Regions from separate parts of the Homo sapiens genome. Here regions 1, 2, 3, 4, 5 and 7 are each linked to region 6. Evidence: promoter capture Hi-C in 16 types of primary human blood cells and fetal thymus (Javierre and others, 2016). All regions are on one chromosome and are shown on one strand. The core of a region is centred on a gene start or on the middle of the fragment in contact, and the rest is flanking DNA. Distances in the headings are between cores, read along the strand shown. Region 1 holds the start of ZNF397 (zinc finger protein 397). Region 2 overlaps TPGS2 (tubulin polyglutamylase complex subunit 2). Region 3 holds the start of SLC39A6 (solute carrier family 39 member 6). Region 4 holds the start of RMP24 (ribonuclease MRP subunit p24). Region 5 holds the start of ZSCAN30 (zinc finger and SCAN domain containing 30). Region 6 holds the start of PIK3C3 (phosphatidylinositol 3-kinase catalytic subunit type 3). Region 7 holds the start of ZNF24 (zinc finger protein 24).

The links. The method cuts DNA at HindIII sites, captures the fragments that hold promoters and counts their contacts. A CHiCAGO score of 5 or more calls a contact.
Region 1: a contact is called between the fragment with the promoter of ZNF397 here and the fragment with the promoter of PIK3C3 in region 6, in 6 of 17 cell types (non-activated CD4 T cells, activated CD4 T cells, naive CD4 T cells and 3 more). The highest score is 19.0, in non-activated CD4 T cells.
Region 2: a contact is called between a fragment that was not itself captured here and the fragment with the promoter of PIK3C3 in region 6, in 2 of 17 cell types (total CD8 T cells and total CD4 T cells). The highest score is 7.2, in total CD8 T cells.
Region 3: a contact is called between the fragment with the promoter of SLC39A6 here and the fragment with the promoter of PIK3C3 in region 6, in 8 of 17 cell types (non-activated CD4 T cells, fetal thymus, total CD4 T cells and 5 more). The highest score is 21.1, in non-activated CD4 T cells.
Region 4: the fragment with the promoter of RMP24 here is called in contact with the fragment with the promoter of PIK3C3 in region 6 in 8 of 17 cell types (non-activated CD4 T cells, total CD4 T cells, naive CD8 T cells and 5 more); the score reaches 46.3 in non-activated CD4 T cells.
Region 5: a contact is called between the fragment with the promoter of ZSCAN30 here and the fragment with the promoter of PIK3C3 in region 6, in 1 of 17 cell types (total CD4 T cells). The highest score is 6.4, in total CD4 T cells.
Region 7: the fragment with the promoter of ZNF24 here is called in contact with the fragment with the promoter of PIK3C3 in region 6 in 1 of 17 cell types (total CD4 T cells); the score reaches 6.4 in total CD4 T cells.

Annotation. Positions count from the first base shown.
Region 1 is chr18:35,239,683-35,242,967 of GRCh38, reverse strand. It overlaps ZNF397 (zinc finger protein 397), which reads right to left and starts at 1,934. Exons shown (of 4, transcript NM_001135178.3): 1 at 1,859-1,934; 2 at 84-577. The coding sequence starts at 497. RefSeq lists a silencer at 1,753-1,882 and enhancers at 1,672-2,197, 2,143-2,252. The HindIII fragment of the contact is 1,449 bases long and covers 1,352-2,800 here.
Region 2 is chr18:36,817,894-36,820,758 of GRCh38, reverse strand. It overlaps TPGS2 (tubulin polyglutamylase complex subunit 2), which reads left to right. Exons shown (of 7, transcript NM_015476.4): 2 at 1,786-1,865. Among named protein-coding and RNA genes, the nearest start is that of TPGS2, 9.7 kb to the left of the region's middle. The HindIII fragment of the contact is 1,891 bases long and covers 392-2,282 here.
Region 3 is chr18:36,127,288-36,130,589 of GRCh38, reverse strand. It overlaps SLC39A6 (solute carrier family 39 member 6), which reads left to right and starts at 1,250. Exons shown (of 10, transcript NM_012319.4): 1 at 1,250-1,476. It overlaps ELP2 (elongator acetyltransferase complex subunit 2), which reads right to left and starts at 691. Exons shown (of 22, transcript NM_018255.4): 1 at 519-691. The coding sequence starts at 656. RefSeq lists enhancers at 440-649, 441-946, 810-999, 1,030-1,324, 947-1,452. The HindIII fragment of the contact is 4,684 bases long and covers 1-1,772 here.
Region 4 is chr18:35,971,415-35,974,409 of GRCh38, reverse strand. It overlaps RMP24 (ribonuclease MRP subunit p24), which reads right to left and starts at 1,731. Exons shown (of 5, transcript NM_031446.5): 1 at 1,605-1,731; 2 at 1,503-1,525. The coding sequence starts at 1,681. It overlaps LOC105372066 (a long non-coding RNA gene), which reads left to right and starts at 1,959. Exons shown (of 4, transcript NR_188032.1): 1 at 1,959-2,012. RefSeq lists an enhancer at 1,049-1,941 and silencers at 1,861-2,010, 1,950-2,244. The HindIII fragment of the contact is 7,007 bases long and covers 1,194-2,995 here.
Region 5 is chr18:35,288,939-35,292,072 of GRCh38, reverse strand. ZSCAN30 (zinc finger and SCAN domain containing 30) reads left to right here and starts at 1,844. Exons shown (of 4, transcript NM_001112734.4): 1 at 1,844-1,989. It also overlaps the pseudogene ZNF271P. RefSeq lists an enhancer at 1,568-1,727. The HindIII fragment of the contact is 2,453 bases long and covers 948-3,134 here.
Region 6 is chr18:41,953,845-41,957,103 of GRCh38, reverse strand. PIK3C3 (phosphatidylinositol 3-kinase catalytic subunit type 3) reads right to left here and starts at 1,870. Exons shown (of 25, transcript NM_002647.4): 1 at 1,745-1,870. The coding sequence starts at 1,812. RefSeq lists an enhancer at 1,913-2,092. The HindIII fragment of the contact is 3,603 bases long and covers 1-3,133 here.
Region 7 is chr18:35,343,084-35,345,978 of GRCh38, reverse strand. It overlaps ZNF24 (zinc finger protein 24), which reads left to right and starts at 1,559. Exons shown (of 4, transcript NM_006965.4): 1 at 1,559-1,619. It overlaps LOC124904283 (a long non-coding RNA gene), which reads right to left and starts at 1,925. Exons shown (of 2, transcript XR_007066337.1): 1 at 1,240-1,925. RefSeq lists a silencer at 1,332-1,501 and an enhancer at 2,182-2,241. The HindIII fragment of the contact is 2,541 bases long and covers 1,225-2,895 here.

The sequences.
Region 1 (3,285 bases), core at 685-3,184, 6.7 Mb after region 6:
AAATTTTTATCCTACTGTTATGATACCATTACATGCTCCAGGCTGTAAATTCCTTTTCCCACATCACTTTTCTCCGTTCCCACCTGCTGCCCTGGGTCATCAAACTCCCTCTCTAAATCCTCCAACAGGGTCACAGCTTCCTCGCCGCTTTCTGGATTATGTTGCTGAACCCAGATCTGCAGCTCCTCAGGCAGAATGCTCAGGAACTGCTCCAGTACCAGCAGTTCTAAGATCTGCTCCTTTGTGTGCAACTCTGGCATTAGCCACTGATAGCAAAGTTCCTGGAGTCGGCTCAGAGCCTCCCGGGGCCCAGGTGTCTCCTGGTAGCAAAATTTTCTGAATTGCTGACGAAACAATTCTTGGCAGGATTGAGTACTCCCATTCTGCTTAAATTTCTCATCCCAGGAAAAGTTATCTTCTACTTTCACTAGTATTAGTTCTTGTTCCGGAGGATCCTGAGGTATCAGGGTTGAAATCACTCCAGATTCCACAGCCATTCTTGGCTGAAACAGCTTAGCAAAAAGCTCAGTACAACTGGTTCTGTGCTTGCGAAGGAGTGTGAGTAATCTCTTCTTTCCTGAAGGATATAAAAGCAGTTAACTTACAGCAATCAATAAAATCTCTAAGTACTTGTAATAAGAAAGATGAGTAACTTTAGTAATATATTGAAAGGGAGTAGATTTGGGGCTATCACTAAATAAAACAATAATGTGATGATAAACTAAAAATCATTAACCTCAATTAGTGTCTCCCATTATGAAGAATTCCTACCACTAATGTTAGAAAAAACTATTTTAGAAGCCTAAGAATGTGAATGCAACATTAACATCAATCACATAGTGAGAAAATTTCCTTTCCAATTCTTTCAATTCTGATTGTATCAAGGAGAAAAGTCTATCTTTAACATGTATGTATTAATAAAACTTGTAGAACTCTCTTTTAAATAAAATACAGGCTTCAGAATCAGACTTCCAAGAGTAAAAATATTTAGGCAGAATTTAGTAATACTGATTTTAAACATTTATTTTTACTTACTTTCTATCTAAAGCAAGTAATGTTGATTTTCATTTAAGGCAGTAATAACGTTTTTTTAAAAGTTCACATTAAACATGAGTTGATGTAAATATTGGATATTTGTCATTTGATCGCATTTGGTGTTTACCGAATTACTTCAACAAACACTGAGGCACTTACTGAGCATTAAGATTTTTGCTTATGAATAAACGAGTCTACAGAGGAATTGACCAAGAACCAAGACGTATCTGTAAAATGCTTACCATGTGTTCAAAAACATGATAGGTATCACATACACAAAAGCAGCAAAGAGATCCGTATCAGTTCTGAAAAAGCTTAGAATATCCCAAGACTAAAAATGTTCAAAAGCAAAATATGGTAACAAATAGGTATTAAATGTTGTGACACAGACCAAACTTGACCTGCTTTTAGGATGGCGAGATATCGATAGGAATGTATGCCCTTAGTTTGTCAGGACAGATGAGTAAAATTCATTCCTCACACTACGGTTAACGTTAAGAGATGAATTAAAATATTTAGCCTACAAATTTAAGGTTTAACCAGTCCGGCCGCACTAACTAACTAACTAACTAGCCCTTCTATTTTTATATCCTTGGTTAAACCGCAGCATTTACGAAGTCACGGGGTCAGCGGAACTGCGTTTTCCTTTGGAAAGCAGGAGTTTGAGTGCTGGCCTCCTCTGAGTTCCCCAGTCGCTTGGAGACGCCGCGCGGGCCAAAGGGCCGCGACCTGGGGATGGGCAGGCCGAGGAGCGGAGCTCCTCCACTGTCCGGCGCGCGCTCCCAACCCCACCTCCCTCTTCCTAGGGGCCCACGTCCCTCACCGCGAAGCCCAGGAGCGGCCAGGAAATGAGCCACCCACCCCGAGCTGCAAGCCACAAAGACCGGAAGTGCGCGTACGCAGTGTTCCGCTCTCGCGCCCTTCGGGTCCTCCGCCGCCCCGCCCCTTGCTCTGAGGTAGCCAATCAGAGCCGCGGGCTCTACAGTTTCCACCGCCTTCTCCCGGTAGCCGCTAGCCCGGCGGAATCTCCAAGGCCAGGGGAGGGTGCGCTAGGAGTCAGGGGTCCTTGTGAGCGGCGGCACCTGGAGGGTCCCGCATCTCGCCTGGGCCGTTCCCACCCTGGCTTTCTCCTGGCACCACCCATCATTGTTGGTCTCAAGTAATTCCCGAATCTCACTCCCAGTTTTCCATTAAAATATTCAGATTTTCGGCCGGGCGCGGTGGCCGAGGCGGGCGGATCACGAGGTCAGGAGATAGAGACCATCCTGGCTAACACGGTGAAACCCCGTCTCTACTAAAAATACAAAAATTTAGCTGGGCATGTTGGCGGGCGCCTGTAGTTCCAGCTACTCGGGAGGCTGAGGCAGGAGAATGGCGTGAACCCGGGAGGCGGAGCTTGCAGTGAACTGAGATGTGCTGCACTCCAGCCTGGGCGACAGAGCGAGACTCTGTCTCAAAAAAAAAAAAAAAAAAAAAACCTCAGATTTTCCTGTGATTCCAGTTCTTTTCCGACAAAAGTAAATGTAAGGATGAATAGGCTGAACAAAAACTAACAGTCACTTATATTGCTTTTGCCTATGAGTATCACTGGAGCCTTACAACAGTTCTGTGCTGTGGCTATATAATCCCAAATTTACAGCCGTAGACATCGCCCAAAGTCAGGCAACTTGTGACCAGGGACGTCCACGTCCCCATAGTTCAAGGAGACTGGTATCGTAGACTCCTGGAGCCTATCTTAGGGTCTTCCCGTTCTTCAGTGGAAGCTTGCTGGTATTGTCTCACTGTTTAAATTTTTCTTTGGCTATTTAGTCGGTGAAAAATGATGCCTCATGTTTCAACTTTGTGAGCTTAAGATAGTCCCCCTTCATGTTTACTGACCATTTATGGTTCTTCAGAGATGGCTTTTCCCATTTAAAAAATTAAGGGAGTAAGATTTTTCTTTTTTATTTGTGAGAATTTTTTGCTTATTAAGGATAGCAACTCGTTTGTTGCAAATCGTTTCCCATTTATTTGTATTTATTTTTAAAACGTTACATTTTACATGTTTAAATGTTACATATTTTTAAAATGTTATATTAAAAAAGTACACAGGATAATAACAAAGCGATACATACATACATAGAAACAAATTCTCCTTTGTGAGCCAAGACTTAAAACACATATTTGAGAAAAATGTTCGTTAGCATTCAAAGCTATTAGTGACTCACTAAATAATTTTATCATTGTGAAATGACTACAGCAATTTTACAA
Region 2 (2,865 bases), core at 88-2,587, 5.1 Mb after region 6:
AAATGATAGGCTACTAAGACAACATGATAAAAACAGCATTAGGTTTGGTGTCCACAGCTTTGGTCAGAGATTTCATTTTATGAATTACTTAACATCTTTGAACCTCGGTTTCCTTATCCTTAAAACGAGGGTAAGGATACCTGCTTTACAAGATTGTTGAAAGATTAAATAGGATAATTTATGCCCATTTCCTGTAACAGAGAATTATACAAATGGAATTTATTGCATGCCCTTCTCTTCCATATCCCCAACACCACCTCCTCACCAATTCTGAAGTACTGTGTCGGATATAGGAGTCTCTACAATGGATACTTCCTAAGCAACTTACTATCTGAAAGTTATTAAAGTCAACATGTTGGCCAATTACCTTGCCATGGGAGTATTCCAAGCTTAAGTATGACATGACCACATCTGCAGTAGCATCACAGTAGTTTTGTCTGAACCTATAACCCTTCCATGGAGGCCTGTTATAAACAGTAAATAATTGTATGTGTCCTCTTTCAAACCCAAGGTCTATTTTTACTTACTGAAGGTAAAGGGAAGTGAAGACCCATCTAAGGTCATACAACTAGTAAATGTATAAAGCAAGACTAGAATAGGTAGAGTCTAGAATTCTTAGTTCCTATATTGGGCTATTGCTGCATCCCAAGATTTGAGTTTCTGGCAACTTGGAGGAAATTTTATAATGCATAAAAAGGACACTGGCTTAATTATAGGATCAGTGAACCACATAAAATGATTAGAAGTTTCTGCCATATTCCTAGAGATTTTAAAAACTGAAGCTACCCTCCTGTGTCAGCCTCCCAAGTAGTGGGGACAACATGTATGCACTGCCATACCTGGCTACATGTTGTTCTTTTTATGAGGAGGGCACCAATCATTGGACTAGGGATCTACTCTACTTCAGTATGACCTCATCTAAACTAATTATGTCTGCAGTAACTCTATTCCCAAATAAGGTCATATTCTGAGGTACTGGGGGTTAGGACTTCAATATCTATTTTTGTGGGGGTGGGGACAGAATTCAAGTCATAACAGCTTTTATGACAAATTTTAAGTCTTGGATTAAGGACTTCAGAATCTTGAGTCTGCATGGCCACAGACAAGTGGAGAATGTTGGAGGAGGTATTGAACTCTGTAGTATTCCCAGGTGGCTTCTGCTCTCCCTCAGAGTGAATGATAGAACACAGCTCCACAAAGAGAAGCAGACCAGATTATTTGGAGACCTTTTCCCGCTTCAAGGATTTAGAAATATGACTTAACTTTTTTCTTAGTATATTTTTGGATGGAATCCATTTTTTATGTTAACCCAGCTTTGAAATCCTAGACCTCACAGAGTAGAAGGTTATGTTCAAGATGAGTTTTATTTAGAAGAAAAGTTAATAAGCAAGTTTTATGTCTTATAAAAGTTAATGGGTTGCTATTCTTTATTTCTTTTCACTTTATCCTGAGTATATAGATTTAGCTCACTGAGAATTTCTGTGTGAAATCATTAGGAATCTACAATCTCTGTTTTTTGTTCAATAAGATTAATGACTGAGCAATGACAGTATAGAGCACAGTCTGTGGATATCCTTTCTATCAGGTAGACTACATTGTCCTAGGTTATGGGACCATGCCTTTCAGAGGCCAACCAGTTCTCTGCTTTCATTACAGGGGTAATAAGTGTTCATGAGAAGGATTGGATGTTCTTAAGAGCAGTCATCAACAGTTAGTCAACAACTAGCGTAGAAATGTATGACAGCGGACCAATTGCAACTCTACAGACTCTTTTTTCTCTTCCAGAATCTTCCCCAGGTGTGACTGAGGTGACCATCATAGAAAAGCCTCCTGCTGAACGTCATATGATTTCTTCCTGGGAACAAGTAAGTGTTGCCACATGAACTCTACCTCCCATCAAAGAGAGGTCAGTGTAAATGTCCCTGAGAAGGAAAGATTAGGGGAGGAAGAATATTTACTCAGACCACAGCTGCTTTCAAGGTAGAGTTTACCTTTTCTATGTTCCTGTTCAGCCCACTTAACAGTTCCTTTCATTCTATGCCACTTACCCAGCATGGAGTGTTTCCCCTGAGCCCCACTCTCCTACAGAAGCAGTGGACATTCAAAGTTGTGTACAACAAAGCTAAAAATCAATTAAGGAAAAGAAAGGATATGTGTTAATAAGTGTCATGCTGTCCAGAACATGATTAAGTGTTGCACATAACTACTAAGCAGATTAAAAGCTAATGCTTTCCAACTTTCCTCTGAACTTCAATTCGTTTATTCAATAAAAGTTTTAAGCTTCTACAGTGGGCCAGACATTGTGCTTGGTGTTGAGCCCTGGGGATTAAATGGTAATATTTTTTTTTTTTTTTTGAGACAGAGTCTTGCTCTGTCTCCCAGATTAAATGGTAATTTTTTAAAAGGCACTGTTTTTGCCTCTTGATCTTACTGCCTAAGACATAGTATAGATTGTTATGAATGTAATTACTAACTGGCCTGAGTACTGTGAAAGAGAGGTAAAGGGAGCATTGTCTGGAGACCTGCCCTAGTCTAGAGGTTGAGAAAAGTTTTCCCAAAGAAGCAATAAGAAATTGTTAACCAGGTAGATGGGATCTAGGAAGATGGGACTTTCAGCCTCTATGAAAGCTTCAAGATGGGAAGGATTACATTGTTCTGAGATCACAAAGAAGGAGCACAGGAGAGCAAGGTAGAGAGAGCTCAGCAAGGACCAGGACATTTAGGGCTTCATAGGTCTTCAGCAGTTTACTCCTTATCCTGGAAGCAAAGGGGAGTCATTGAAATGTTTTAAGTAGGGAACTTTGAAGTTAGATTTATACTTGAAAGGACCACTGTGGCTGTAGAGTAACAAATGGATTTGACTGG
Region 3 (3,302 bases), core at 1-2,500, 5.8 Mb after region 6:
TCCCCTATGACCTTTCCCCCAAACTGACACTTTCTCTAAAATGTCCATTCCCGTAGCTAAAACACAGGTAACATTTCCTTGAAATTCAATACAACAAAAGTTCATTAACCAAAACTGAAGGAAATACTGAAATGAGATTGCACCTGTGGGATGATGGTTTTAATCTACATATAAATTTCAATTGTTTTAAAACCCAAATTGATTAACGGTACTACAGTTCCCAAGGAAGGCTTCAGGTAAGATGCTTATCATTCGGGTTTCTGCGTGGGACTAACAGGTTACTAGCAGCTCATGGGCAGCAATGACCCTAGGATGACGCCACGCGTGAGACGGCAAAGGGTGAGGGGTGAGGAGCGAGTCCGGCAGGTCCACTGGAGACTCCGAGCCCAAACCCCGCTCCCCTGAGCCGACCCGACTCGCCTCCTAGGTCTGGGGCGGCAACTAACAGCGCGCCCGGAGCACGTCCACAGGTTCAACCCGAAAAGCACAAGGGTCGGCCGTCCAGCGACCTCTCTTACCAGGGGGTCATAGAGCACCACGGAGCAGGACGTGCCAAAGGCCAGAAGTCCTCTGGGCCCAGAGCTCCAGTTCAGGACTCCCCGCACCCGGTTTGGGCAGCAAAACACGTGAGAAGTCTCCAGCACGGGTGCCACCATGTCGCCAACTGGTCAGCCGCACAAACAAGAGACGCGCACTTCCGCCCTCGGAGCGGAACTACTAGGGTGGTTTCTCCTGAGGCATCACCCAGTCCACGTTTCGCAGCCAGCCGAGGGCCAGACGGAGGCAGCCCCGCCCCCCTGAGACTCTCCGTTCCCACCGCAGGCTGGAACCCCTGTGCAAGGCCGCCGCTTTGCTAGCTCTGCTCTTGGACCGTGGCCCCGCTCCGCGAACGAGCCAGGCCTTTGTCTCAAGAGCGAAATCCGACCCGAGTGGCTCGGGACCCTCCCGAAGGACCCGGGGCTCATGTGCCTGGGGCAGCGTCAGAAACATCTCGCTGCCCCTTACGACCCGGCTCCCAGCAGCAGCCAGGGCTGGCCCCGGGGGCGCTGGCTAGCGAGTAGGGCCTCGAGGAAATGACCCCCAACTGCTTACAATGCGCTAGGGCCGCGCCACGCCCCCGCGGCGTCGGCGAACACACGGAAAAGCGGATCCGTCTGCGGAGCCGGGTTCCGGGGTCGCACTGCGCATGCCCTGCAGTCCTGGGCGAAGGGGGCGGTGGTTCCCCGCGGCGCTGCGCGCGGCGGTAATTAGTGATTGTCTTCCAGCTTCGCGAAGGCTAGGGGCGCGGCTGCCGGGTGGCTGCGCGGCGCTGCCCCCGGACCGAGGGGCAGCCAACCCAATGAAACCACCGCGTGTTCGCGCCTGGTAGAGATTTCTCGAAGACACCAGTGGGCCCGTTCCGAGCCCTCTGGACCGCCCGTGTGGAACCAAACCTGCGCGCGTGGCCGGGCCGTGGGACAACGAGGCCGCGGAGACGTGAGTCTTTCAGGTCCGGGAGCAGGGCGGCTGGGAGGGGAGCTCCTCAGGCCAGACAGGCGTGGCGGGGTAGGGGTGGTTCTGCGGAGAACCGGATCCTGCGGACCGGGCAGGGGGGCTACAGAAAGAGGATGCTGGGGGGAGCCCGCCGCAGGCGCCCACTCACCCTAGAGAGCCGGACTTCTTAAGGTGCTCAGATGGGCTTCGGGGTGCAACGGAGGATTTTTTGAGGAAAAGATCCGTACTTTTCATCCCATATTCGAAGAAGGGACTGACGTGTTTAGAAATAAAAAGCTTTTAGAAGAGAGCTTTGTGCCCTCTTTTCCGTTTTCTGTACTCGCCTTTTTCTCTAAGGCCCTTCCCTTCTGCTTTCCTTTTTCCTCCAGCACACACCAACTTGCAGGAAAGGAGATCCTTCAACGGGTCCACGACCGCGCTCAGCATCCTCCCTGGAGAAAGGCTCGGAGCTGTCCCCTGTGCTAGTCCCCTCCCACCCCGCTCCTCGCCTCTCTCCTGGGAATGATTTCTAAATGTTTATCTTTTACCTAGTAAAAGAATTCCCGAAACTTCAAGCCCCAAAGATTCCTCTTTCAGGAGCCTCGTTCTACGCCGTACCTCCATTTCCCACTGTTCCCTGTATGATACCTCGCACTTGTGCAACACATGAGTTTAACGAGTACTTGTAATATACATTCCTTCATGTGTTTTCCTCCTTCGCCTTGCAAAATAGGTTTTACCGGTATTTTAGATAAGGTAATGAATGCGAGAGCCCTGTCCAAAGAACAGCTGACCGTGGTAGAGCTGGATAGCCCCATGCTCTTGCTTAGTTGTAAACTTGACGTCTGCGTCTTTTGCTGGAGATGTGAGTTTGACCACCATCACCTCCACCGTTGGTGCTGGACATCCTGCTGGATCTGAATTAACTGAATTCTGGCTCTGCTTAACTGAATTCTGCTTTTCAAGCTCCAACTCAATTGCTTCCTCCTCTTTGGGGCACAGGCCTTTGGTTCCAAACACTACTGTGGATGATTAACAGCCTGTGATTAAATGTTGACTGGTTTGTAGTAACACAAGGATGCTACAGTGAGTTTTTCATGAAGTTCAGTTTACTTTAAGAATTCTATGTATGGACATAATGTGTCTGATTCATTGTCAAGTCGGAAAAAAGATTCAATGTGTATTTAAAGTATACACTTATTTGAGGCTGGGCGTAGTGGTCACGCCTGTAATCCCAGCACTTTGGGAATTGGAGGTGGAGGATCTCTTGAGGCCAGGAGTTCAAGACCAACCCGGACAACATAGTGAGACCTCGTCTCTAGAAAAAAAAAAAAAAAACTTTAAAAAAAAAATTAAGTATACATGTATTTGAGTATGCATAGAAAATATCCTGAGGGATACACTGGCAAAATTGAGCACCTTTGAGGATTGTGATTGGGGAAAGGGGTCTTAAATGGGCTTGTATGTAAGGAGAGTGTATTAGTTTAAAATTTTTTAAATATGTGAATTCTGAGATTATTATTTCTATTTTTTGGTGTTTGAAGGTTATTTTATGAAATGATGGTGATGATCAAGGTAGCTAGATTTCATTTCGTTCTTTTTTTTTTTTGAGACAGGGTTTCACAATGTTGCCCAGGCTGGTCACAAACTCCTGGCCTCAGGTGATCTGCCTGCCTCAGCCTCCCAAAGTGCTGGGATTATAGGCATGAGCCACCACACCCAGCCTAGATTTAATTATGAATCATTGGCCTCAATGATTCAAATAATCGTTCAAATAAATTCTCAACTTCAGTAAGCAGTTGATGGCTGTGGCCACATGGATCTCCCTT
Region 4 (2,995 bases), core at 482-2,981, 6.0 Mb after region 6:
CTGCCAAATGTGAAACTCATTCATATTCACTAAGTGACAATTAAGAATGCCAGGCACTGTTCTAAGTGCTGGAGACACAGCAGTGAACAAAGGACAATTCACCGAGGCATACAATAAATATAACAACGTCAAATGTTAAGTGCTGGGAATAAAAAAGTAAGATAGGAGGGGGGAATAGAAGTATTGATGGAGTTACTGTAATTTTAAATAGGTGGCTAGGGAAAGCTTCATTGAGTGATATTATAGAGACCAGAGGGAAATGGAGGATTCACATGAAAGCAGATATGTGAGGCAAGAATCCCAGGCAGAGTGAAGAGTACCTGCAAAGGCCCTGAAACAGAAAAGCAAGGAGACCTAGTGTGACTGGAGTTGCGTGAAGGAAAGAGTACGTCAGAGAGGTATGCAGGTCTATGACACAGGGCCTTACAATCCTTTTAAAGGACTTTCACTTTTATTAATCCAGGAGAGAGCTGGTGATGGCCTGGAGCAGGGTAGTAGCAATGGATGTGGTGAGGAGTGGAGTGCAATGGCGCCATCTCCGCTCACTGCAACCTCCACCTCCCGGGTTCAAGAGATTCTCATGCCTCACCCTCTCGAGTAGCTGGGATTACAGGCGTGCACCACCATGCCAGGTAATTTTTTTGTATTTTTAGTAGAGACAGCGTTTCGCCATGTTGGCCAGGTTGGTCTCGAACTCCTGGCCTCAAATGATCCGCCCGCCTCTGCATCTCAAAGTGCTGGGATTACAGGGGTGAGCCACCGCTCCTGGCTGATTTTGGCTACATTTTAAAGCCAACAGGATTTGCTCGCATACTGGCCTGGGGGAGGAGAGAGAGTTAGGGAGTCAAGAATAGCTCCAAGGTTTTTGGGCTCAATAACTGTAAGGGAAGAATGGAATTATTTACTGAAATGAGAAAAACTGGAGGATCTTGTTGGGGGTTAAAGCTCAGGTTTTGGACATATTAGCTAAGTTTGAATTACTAGACATTGAAAAGAATTTGTCAAGAAGACATTCGGATATATGAGTCTAGAATTCAGAGGAGAGGTCTGCGCTGAGTATATACATTTGTAAGTCCTCAGTATATGGTATTTAAAAGCCATGAGATTGGATGAAAAACTGTCACCAAGGAAGCGAGTGTGCCTAGAAAAGAGGTCCAAGGGCTGAGTACTGGGCCACGACAATACTTAAAGCTTGGGGAGATTAGGAGGAACCAGCAAAGCAAATCGAGAAGTAATAAATGAAGAGGTGAACTACGTAATGACCTAGAAGCCAAGGGAGGAAACTATTTCAAGACTGATCAATGTGTCAAATGCCGCTAACAAAGCAAGACAAGGCACATTAAAGAATTTGGATTTTTCACGAAACCGAGACACATGCGGGCTTTGTTGTTGTTGTTTTTATGGAGGGAAGTGAGTCCATCGGCCTTATTTGAGCGTTGTGCGGAACAGAGGAAAGCGGGGCGACAAGAGCCCAAAGCACAAGAGACAGGCGTTCTTCTTACCGTGCGACGAAGTGTAGGCCCAGCTGTAAAAGAGAAAGAGACTTGTGAGGAGCAAAGGAACACCTACCCGCTCGCCTCCCGCTTCCCCTCCAGTCCTCTTACAGGAGGTAGCGGGCTTGGCCCGGGCAGCTGTCGTGCAGTCCCCGCGCTGCAGCCTCAAGGTAGTGCTTCTGTCTCATCGCCGCCGCCGCTGCCGCTGGCTCGCCGCGGGAACCAGGTGAGAAAATAGGGCGCCGGAAGTCGGCTTCCCAGCGTCCCCGTCGTTGGTGTCCGGACTCAAGCTGCTTCCGGAAACAGGCACCGTAGGCAGACAGGTTCCGGTTTCCTTCGCGTCCAGTCTGGCTTGGAGGCGTGCCCAGCCGGGAGGCGGCCCCACCCGCCCGCCGCGTCCCCGCCCCCTCAGTTCCACCCCTTGGCCTGCCGGGTCCTCTCAGGCACCCAGCGGAGTTTCGAGTCAGACTTGAGCTCGGGCGTAGCGGCTAGACCGGGCTGTGGCGATAGAGTCCAAAGGTGAGGCTCCCACCCGCCTCTCCATCTTCCTCCCGCCTCGCCTCCTCTCTGACAGCCCTTTTGTGATTGCCCTGCCGCAGCTTCGCCCTCCACATTCGCCGGGCGCGGTACTGACTGGTGCGCCGGCGGGCGGAAGCGCTGCCAGCAACGAGGCGGCCGGGAGGAGCGTCCCCAGTCCAGCCTGCCCTCCGCCTGCGTAAACGCTAGCGTTTCTCTTTTTGTAATTAAAGTGAAATTCACATAACGTAATATTGACCATTTTAAGGTGAACAATTCAGTGGCGTTTAGTAAATTTACAATGTTGTGCAAGCACCATTCTGCTATTTCCAAAATATTTCGCCGAAGGACAGCCAACTCCATGAAGCACTTACGGCCAATCCTCCTCTCCCTCCCAGGCCTTGGCAACCACCAGTCCGCTTTCTGTCTCTATGGATTTACCTATTCTGGGCATTTCATGTAAATGGAATCATACACACGACCTTTTGTGTCTGGCTTCCTTCACCTAGCATAATGTATCAGGTTCATCCACCTTGCAGCACGTATCAGTACTTCATTCGTTGTTATGGCTGAATAATATTCCATTGTATGGCGGTATCACAATGGTTTATCCATTCATCAGTTGAACGTTTGAATTGTTTCTACTTTTTGGCTGTTATGAATGAATGCCGCTGTGAACATGTGTGTACATGCATTTGTTTGAGTGCCTTTTTTCTGTTCTTCGGGGTATAATACCTAAGAGTAGATCTGCTGGGTTATGTAGTAATTCTGTGCTTAATGAGGGTTCCAGTTTCTCCGTATCCTCACCAACATTTGCTTTTCTTTTTCTTTTTTTTTTAAATCTAGCCTTCCTAGTGAGTATGATGTAGCATCTCATTGTGGTTTTGATTAACATTTCCCTGACTACTGATGCTTTTGAGCAGCTTTTCATGTGCTTGTTGGCAATTTATGTATCTTTGGCTGTTTAAGTTCTTTGCTCATTTTTT
Region 5 (3,134 bases), core at 595-3,094, 6.7 Mb after region 6:
CTTTCATCAATGAGACATTAACAGATGAAACACATTAACAGATGAAACACAAACATAGGTATGAAAAGAGCTTGCCTTCTCTGACTGGAAACAAGCTGTCCTGTGAAAAAGTCCAGCGTCACCTGCTGAAGACATGAGGACTCAAGCCATAGCCGGCACTAACAGTTTGACATTGAGACAACGTGATTGAAACCATCTTAGACCCTGGCCCCAGTAGAGTCAGCCTTGAGATGACTGCAAAATGACCCCAGAAAAGACCAAGAGAAAAAAAAATGCCCAGGTGAACCCAGCTCAAGTTGATGACCTACAGAATCATAAGAAATAATGTGGTTTAAGAAGTCTGATGTTTTAGGTCACTAAATTTTGGGGTTCTTTATTCTGGAGTAATACATAGATACAAATCTCAAAATAACTTCAAGGTATGAAGTACTATGCACTTGAAAAGTGAGGAAACAGAATCGTAAAATATATGAGTAACTTACTGGAGCCAGTTAAGTGACAAAACTACTGTTTGAATCTAGGTTGTCAGACTCCAGAACTTTTAACTATGCCCCTACAGTAGATAAGAAAAATGACCAAAACTGACAGATTAGCAATGAGGTCATTATACAGGGAAAAATGAATGACTTTGGGGTCTTAAAAAAGTGGAGAGAGCTGCATGAGAATTTGATCGCCAGATTTTGAAATAAAGTCATGTGACTATGCTTGGTACACTAAAGAGGTAATACTGCCTAACAGAGTTAAGGGGGATCATTTGAAGACACTAGCATAGAGTGACACCCCCTCATCCTCCCCACCCCGCCAAAGCCACTAAGAAAGATATAATACCCTGCCTCTCACCTGACAGAAGGTGGTGTTCCTGAGATTCATAATTGAACTGGATCTCCATGGGCTGCAACTGGACACCTCAGTGTGCAAGTGGAGAATTACCATTTCCTCTGTAAGCTTTTCTTGTCCACATAAAGGTCTGGGACCTGGAGGCAACTGGGCACCACTGGGCTTGGAAGGGAATCATTGTGCTGACTACAGATGTAATCTCTGAGACTAGACCACCAGAAAAATCCTCAAGATATAAAAGAAGGAGAAAACAAAAAATCTCATTTGACTTCCAGTTGCTTTTCTCTCAGAATGTATTAGGCTTCCTCCCCATCATCCAAGAGCCAGGGATTAACCCACTTAAGACACACATTCCCCATTCCAAGTCTAGAGATGTTCAAACAAAATTAGGGGTTAATGCTACCAAAAAAAGGTATAACTGGAAAGATAACGCAGAGAGGGGAATTTTACAGTGAATTCTAGTGGTTAACACTATGTTATTCGCTGCCCTTCCTATCCAAAAATGACACTACTGATCATTTTTCTTCCTTTTGCTTTTACAACATTCACAAATTCAGGTGGCTCTTTCCCAGTACGGTAGGCTGATTCGTATGGATGCACCACGGTTGGTGACTCCCCCCACCCCACAGAGTTTCTGGCGTTCATTCGGTTGAACCCAAGGCCAGCAAGGGCTGACTGGGAACAAACCGAACACTAGGCCGTGAACCAATCGTCTCTCCGTGCCCGGGAGCGACCCCGGGGGCCTTCACTCTCCAAGGACTCGAGAAACCATGCACAGTTTCCTGCTCGTTAGGCAAGATCACCCGGAACTCCTCTGCTATCCGCGAGCCGACATCACCCTTACCTCGACTTGGTCACCGGACCGCTGTGAAGCCTCACACCCGGCGAACCTGCCATCGCCCTGTCCGCTCTAGGAATCTGGGAGGAGTGCTCAGCTCTATGGCGCTTCACCGCGCAGGCGCAGGGCGGGGGTGGGGCACCGGGTGACGGAGGGCTGCCGAGAATTAACCCCCGAACCGCCGCGAGCTGTCCCTAGCAGTGCCTTAGCCAGGGACCTGCTTGGCCAGCGACAGATCCTTTGCTGCTCTGTCTGCCGGTTCTTGAGGTGAATGTCGGAATCCATTATCTTTCGGGAAAGCTCTCTGGGGCAGGGTAGGTTTTCTTACTACATACAAGTTCTTAATTAGTTATCGTTTTTTAAATAACCACCCCTCCCCCTATCGCTTATCTGATTCGTAGGTATGCTTTAATTCTAACTTTCTTCCTGTCCTCTCTGGTTTTTCACACCCCCAGAAGAGTAGCGCGCATCAGAATCACCTGGAGGCCTTGTTAAAATACTGACTTCTGCCCCACAACTCCGGAGTTGCTGATTTAGTAGTGGGGGAGGGGGCGGTGGCAGCCCAGGTTCTCAGGTGATCCTGAAGCTGTTGGTCCTGGGACCACATTTTGAGAACCACTGCCCAAGAAATAAGTGATGCTCAGTAATTAATCCCTGAATTAACGGAAAGTTGGATTTTTATCTACTTTGCAATCTAGAAAGGGTACGAGGTCTATTTAAGGTTTGCTTGCTAGAACAATTCTCACTGATCAGGGTGAGAAGGACCCGAAATGGAGGGTGCGGGGTAATCAGGGTAGGAAAGGATATTGCTGTGTTCATGGAAATATCTTGGGAAATGAGGAGTTGGGACCTCATTTCTGTTGAGACCAATGAGACGTGTGACTTGGTTTAAGCTGTCCGGTGGGGAAAGGAAGAGGTTTGAGAAAATGGTGGGTGGCTAAGTGGTAGTTGAGGTGGAGGAAGAGGGCTTCCTGTCCCAGCCCAAGTCCCTGTTGGGATATATGAAATTTAGGGATGTATGACTAAGCCCTTAATATAACCGTAAGAGGAAAGAGATGTGGGAACTTGAGTCCAACCCTCCCAAGTAGGGAGTGCAGATAGTTTTAAAAAAACAGCTTTCTTTTTGGCCAGGCGCAGCTTAGGCCTGTAATCCTAAAACTTTGGGAGGTTGAGGCAGGTGGATCACCTGAGATCAGGAGTTGGAGACCAGCCTGGCCAACAAGGTGAAACCCTGTCTCTACTACAAATACAAAAATTAGCTGGGCATGGTGGTGTGCGCCTTTAATCCCAGCTACTTGGGAGGCCGAGTCAGGAGAATCGCGTGAACCCATGAACCCAGGAGGCGGAGGTTGCAGTGAGCCGAGATTGCGCCACTGCACTCCAGCCTGGGTGACAAAGCGAGACTTTGTCTCAAAACAAAACAAAACAAAACAAAACAAAACAGCTTTATTGAGGTATA
Region 6 (3,259 bases), core at 621-3,120:
GTCATTGCTTCTGGGGAAAAAAATTTACTTTTAACTGCATGTTTTTATTCTACTCTTTCCATTTTTTTCTTTTACTATGCATATGCATTGTCTGATCATTTCTTTAAAACAGTGGTATAAGTCATAAATAGATATGCACAGGATACTATCACAGAGGGAGGAACATTTTTTAGACATCAAGATTACATCAGATACTGTGCCAGGCATTTTATATTTTCTTTCTTACATAATTTTCACCATATTCTCATTTTATAAATGAGGAAACAGAGACTTATAAACTAAACTCCTTATCCACAGTCACAACGTAAGTAACAGAGCTGAGAATAAACACTAGGGCAGGGAGGCCAAAGCCAATATTCTTCCCATTACAGTAAGATAAATCAGAGTCTCAAGAGTACTTAGGCTGGCATGGGGAAGGGACTTAGTACCCCAGATAGATGTCTGAAATGATCCTGAACAATGCATGAGAGTTGAAGCAAAAGAAGCAGAACGTCATCCCAAAGGGAAAGGAGACAGAGTGAGACCCTGTCTCCAAAAAAAAAAAAAAAAAAAAAAGGGACCGGTTTTTTTGGCTTTTTCTTTATTTTTAATGTTCAAACATTTCAAAAAATGCATTCATATATCCAAGAAATACTGAGCATCAAGCTGAAGGAAAGCCCTTTATCAATATTGATCCTGTATAAACTACTAGTGGTGTATGCTATGGAAAATACCTTAAATGAGTGTATAAAGTATCATACAAAGGTACAAGGTGGTTGTTGACATATTACTTTTACCACCACCACCACAAACTAAAAAGTAAAGTATTTGTCAGCGAATAAGGGACTTCTGAAAATAAAATGAAATGATCATTCAAAGGTACATCAGACAACTGAGAAAATTTATCTATCACTTACTGCAGGCCTTTGACCGACACATATTTGTTGAATATTAATTGAACATACACAAGAAATGTTTATTAATTATGGATGATGCTATGGTCAATAATTTGTGATAGCTTTGACAACACTCCTACATGACCACCTTAAAAGGGACATAATTTCCAACTCTGTCTTGTGCATCCCTCGTCATTATACCAGTTCTATTATCCTCATCTCAAGATATCACGCCCTTGACCTTTACTTCAGCCGTGGTGCCCCAACGTTTTCCTGCAAAGACTCTTTTCTCCTATCTTCTTGGTACCTTTGAAACTGGAACCCTCATCTTCGACTTACTCCCAACTTCCCTGACTAAACACTGCCATACTACCCAAAGATTCACTCTAGGCCTCTATCACCTCCCGTGCTAATACACCATGTGCTCATCTTATTCTCAACTATCGCATCTGCCTGTGTCTACCTCTCCATAATTTCTGAAGCCTTCATTCCACCCTACAAGCCCCGTTCCAAAATAAAGATCGTCCTCTTACTTACGACGAGACTTGATTTCTTAATTTACAATGAAATAGTAATAAACTCTCAAAAGGCTGAACAGCAAAAACTTTAAAGACTGTAAAATACAGCGGAACTTAAGGGCTATTCCTACTGCTGTGCTTCTCACGGAGACCACGTATTAAATCCTTTTCCAAAAGAGCCCCTCTCCACGATCCACTCTCTCGCGCCTCCCTGGCTACAGCCCTCACAGCCGCCCCCAATCTGGGCCTTGAGACGAGTCACGTACTTTCTGCCTCTCACTCCCAACAGGCCCCTGCCCCCACGTCCCTACGCCCCAGCAATCCCACTCCCTGTCCCGAGTGTTCTCTTACATCTTAAGCTGGACGTTGATATCCAGGTCACAACTATAGATGTAGTGAAACTTCTCTGCTTCCCCCATCGCACCGTCTGCAAAGGTACCACCTACAGCGGGAACTTAGGTACAGGAAAAACAACATAAATGAACCAGCTGAGCCCCACAACACGGAACTTCCGGTTCCGCCCCCGCCAGCAAGCCGCCAATCCACGCCCGGAGCGAGTTCCGACGCGGCGGAACTCCCCGCCGAAACAACCCTTCCGCGCATGTGCACAAGGCGCCCACCATCTTGCTTAAGGGCAAATGTATACGGGAAACGGCTAATCTGGTTACATTCCAGTTTTCCTGTCTTGACAGCACTTTTTTTTTTTTTTAAAGAAAAAGAGACGCTATCATTTGAGCTTGAGCTGTACCTAAAACAATACGAAAGAAAATTCAATTCAAAAAGAATTATAACAGCTTTCACTGGCTGCCGGCTAAACAGGTTACAAGCACAAAAATTGGAATTTTGCCAGGTTTAAATTCCAGTGGCCTTCCCAAAAAGTGTAGCACTAATTTGCTATCTCAAGCAAGGATTTTCTCTTTCTGCTCTAAAGAGTAGGGAAAGGACTAAATAGAGAATAAATAAATCTGGGTTTCATGTTTGGTGTTGTCAGTATTCATGCTACTTTGGACATAATACTTGCGTGCATGTTTAAACTGGGAATATTCAAATTCAATGTAGTTTCAAGCCCTAACCCAAGTTAGAATCTAGAGGCCTCCTGTAATAACTACAGAACACAGATCTCTAAACCCTCTGAGCTCCTATAATGTTTGTTTTTATAATTATTATAATCTAAAATTGTAATACTCCCTTCCAATTAGATTGAAAACTCTTGGAAGGTAAGACCAGTGTGCCATTTACTTCCGTGTCTTGCCCCGCTAGCTGTCTAATGCATTGCTGAGTTTAATACTTCCTACTTACTGGTTATTAATGATGATATTGAATGAAAGTCTCCATTTTCTATGCCTTTATTTCTTTTTTTTTTTTTTTTTTGAGATGGAGTTTTGCTATTGTCGCCCAGGCTGGCACCATCTCGGCTCACTGCAACCTCCATCTCCTGGGTTCAAGCGATTCTCCTGCATCAGCCTCCCAAGTAGCTGGGATTACAGGCACCCGCCACCCAGTCAGGCTAATTTTTGTATTTTTAATAGAGATGGGGTTTCACCATGTTGGCCAGTCGGGTCTCAAACTCCTAACCTCCAGTGATCTGCCTGCCCTGGCCTCCCAAACTGCTATGTCATTTCTTTTTTTTTTTTTTTTTTTTTTTTTGAGACAGAGTCGCTCTGTTGCCCAGGCTGGAGTGCCCGTCTCTCTGTTGCCCAGGCTGGAGTGCAGTGGCGCGATCTCGGCTCACTGCAAGCTTCACCTCCCAGGTTCATGCCATTCTCCTGCCTCAGCCCCCCAAGTAGCTGGGACTTCAGGTGCCCGCCGTCACGCGCGGCTAATTTTTTGTATTTTTTAGTAGAGTCAGGGTTTCACCGTGTTAGC
Region 7 (2,895 bases), core at 310-2,809, 6.6 Mb after region 6:
AAACTCTTAAAACAAAAATGCCTTCAGCTAGCCTTTACAAATCAGATAAGAGGGAAAGGTTGGGAAGAGCAGCCAAGTTGCTTAGGGGCCGTATCCAAGTAGCAGAGTGAAAAGGCTGTACTTCTGAAGCTTCCTGCAATGGAGAGAAGTGTTAGCAGGGGTTGTGAGAAGAGCTCTGGTCGGAATGAAAAGCAGTGGTATACCATCAGCTGCTCGCTCACTTGCTCTCTCATGCACGAATCCAGCGGAGCCTGACGGCACTTTTCAGAGGGCATTTTCTCCAATGAGGCAAAAAGTCAAAGCCTGAGGATCTTGAAATGCTTATGTTAGGCTGGATCTACACTTTTGACCAGTCCTTAAACAACAGGGCTCCTTTGTGTGGTGTCTGATGCCAATCATGTGACCTAGCTAAAGGCAGCAATGTAACCATCCCACAATTCATTTATTTATTCAACAAATATTTATTGAGTTCTCTATTTACCAGGCAGTCAGCTTCCAGGATCTAGGATGGGATACTGTGGTGAGCAAGACAGACAAGGTCCCTGCCCTTAAGGGACTTAAAGACAAAACAAAACAAAAAATAAAACAAGTAAATAAATGAGATCACTTCCATTAATAACAGTGCCATGAAGGGTCATGCGCCATGAAAGGCAGGTGGTGAGGCTGAGGATCTTGGGCCACAATGAGCCGAGGAGCTGAGGTGACTGGGGGCGCCAGGGTCTGGGGGTGCGGGCAGGCAACAGACCACAGGGGACTTACAGGCCATTATAAGGAGTTTTTATGTCATAAATTATTATGACATAAATTGGAGGGCTTTAAATAGGGGAGTGAAGTGGTCTGATTTGTAATTTTAAATGATCGCGTCAGCAGTTGTTTTATGGTATAAAATGCCCAGCTTTAAGATGACCATGCATTCTACAAATTCACCGTGACATCACTGCCAAAACTCTTAACCTGTCTTATCTAGTTTTCCTGACAGATAAATAGGTCGGAATAAAGCTCCATGACATAACTAGTGGGAGCCAAAGATTTGAATCACGTCTTGGTTTCAAATCTTGCTACCCACAAATGAGTTGTGAGCTCTTGTCAGGTTATTTACTGTATTTGTGCCTCAACTATCTCAGCTGTGAAATGGGGATAATGAAAGTTCCTACATCATTTATTTGTGGAAAAAAAAATGACATGTAAAGCACGACGAGAGCGCCTGGCACAATGTAGTAAGCTTTCACAAACACTCACTTTCATTCCTTCTTGCAGGGGATTACTGAGAGGATCCACAAGATAATGCACGTGAAAGGGCTTGCGAAATTGTAAGGACTATCTTAATGGTAGAGTCCTCTTTATGTTTTCTTTTAAACGGTCCAGAGGACGCTGGGCTGTTCGAGGAGAGGCGCGAGGCCAAGCGCAGCCTCAATGCGGTCATTGTCGTGGGGCCGCCCCTCCCCCGCCCGGGGCGCTTCTCCATGGCAACGTGGGCTTTACCTCTCCCCGCCTCCTCAGGCCCGCAGACCGGAAGCAGCCCGCGCCGGGGGCTTCTGGGAAAAGGCTTGTGAACGGCGTTTCTGCGTCTGCCGTGGACAGCGAAGCTGCTGCGGTTCCTGAGCCGGAGGTTTGCGCCGGTGTGCGGGGAACGTTATGAGAGGGAGGGGGGACACCGGGCTAGGGTCTGCGGACCTCTTAGCAGGAGCCGGCGGGGAAGCCTGTCCGGGACCTTCCTCAGCTTCCCGGGAGGCGCGGGGAACAGGCCGCGGTCTCCGCGCCTAGCAGTTGTGGGGCGGGGAGGGGTAGGCGGCAGGCCTGCTTGGGTCTTCGGCATTTGCAGAGAGCTCTCTAACCCCCTGTGTCCTCCGAGACCCTCACCTTCCCCCTCCCCCACCGGCCGGTTTTGTTCTATTTCGAGGCCCTGGCGTCTCGCGGAGGGTTCTGGGAGTCGTGATGGGAGGGGGTGGTAGTGGGACGAGACTTGCGCGGGGCTTCTGGGATTTGTAGTCTCACCGGCCGCAGGCGGAAGTGCCGTGGTTCCGACGCTGTTGTCACAGGGTGGCCTTTGGTCATCTGAAATCCGCGGTCCTGAGTGCTGGGAAGAGGGGCTAGAGGACGTCGGGCCGGGGCCGGGGCCGGGGCCGGGATACACAGCAGGTCTATGCAGCAGTAAGGTGGGCGATCCACCTGGGACGAGGTACCCTGCCCAAACATTGTCGGGACCGTGGGCCTTCCCTCCATTTCCCACAAGCGGTATGCTCTACAGCATAAAAGGAAGAGAAAATTATGTAGAAATACTTGCACCGTTGATAAGCAGGGTCTTGGAATAGGAACGAATGAATGTTGGCTAGACCTTATGTATAAGGCCACCACACTCCAGGGTATTTAATTAAACCAGTATGTATTACTTGTCTGATAAGGCCTTTTCTGATTCTAGTCTTCATCTTGCTTGGGTTACAATAAGTTTTTTTAAGTTGTTATTGTTCAGATTTTGGGCCCTGAATAAATAAATAGGCTGAATGGCTCATTGCTAGTATGTGTCGTAAACAACAGCACGGGCATGATCGTGCAAATAATAAAGGTCCAGAAGCAGTATACAGTTTCACTGAAGGTAGAAGCTGGGGAAACTGTGAGTCCTCCAGTGTAAGGACAAGACACTGGACCACTGCAGGAAGTCAAGGTGCTTATGCGAGTGCCTTTTCTTAATAGAAGTTTCTGTGATTAATGCCTATCATTATAAATATAAATGTACGTATGGTGTGGTGGAAGACTGAATATTTACGTATTATGTGCAAGATAATTTTTCAAAATTATGTGATGTTTTTCACATATGATCTTTTCAATATTATGTGATCTGCTACTCAGCAAGTGAACATTTTTTCACATATAAGTCCAAGGAGTTCTTAAACACCT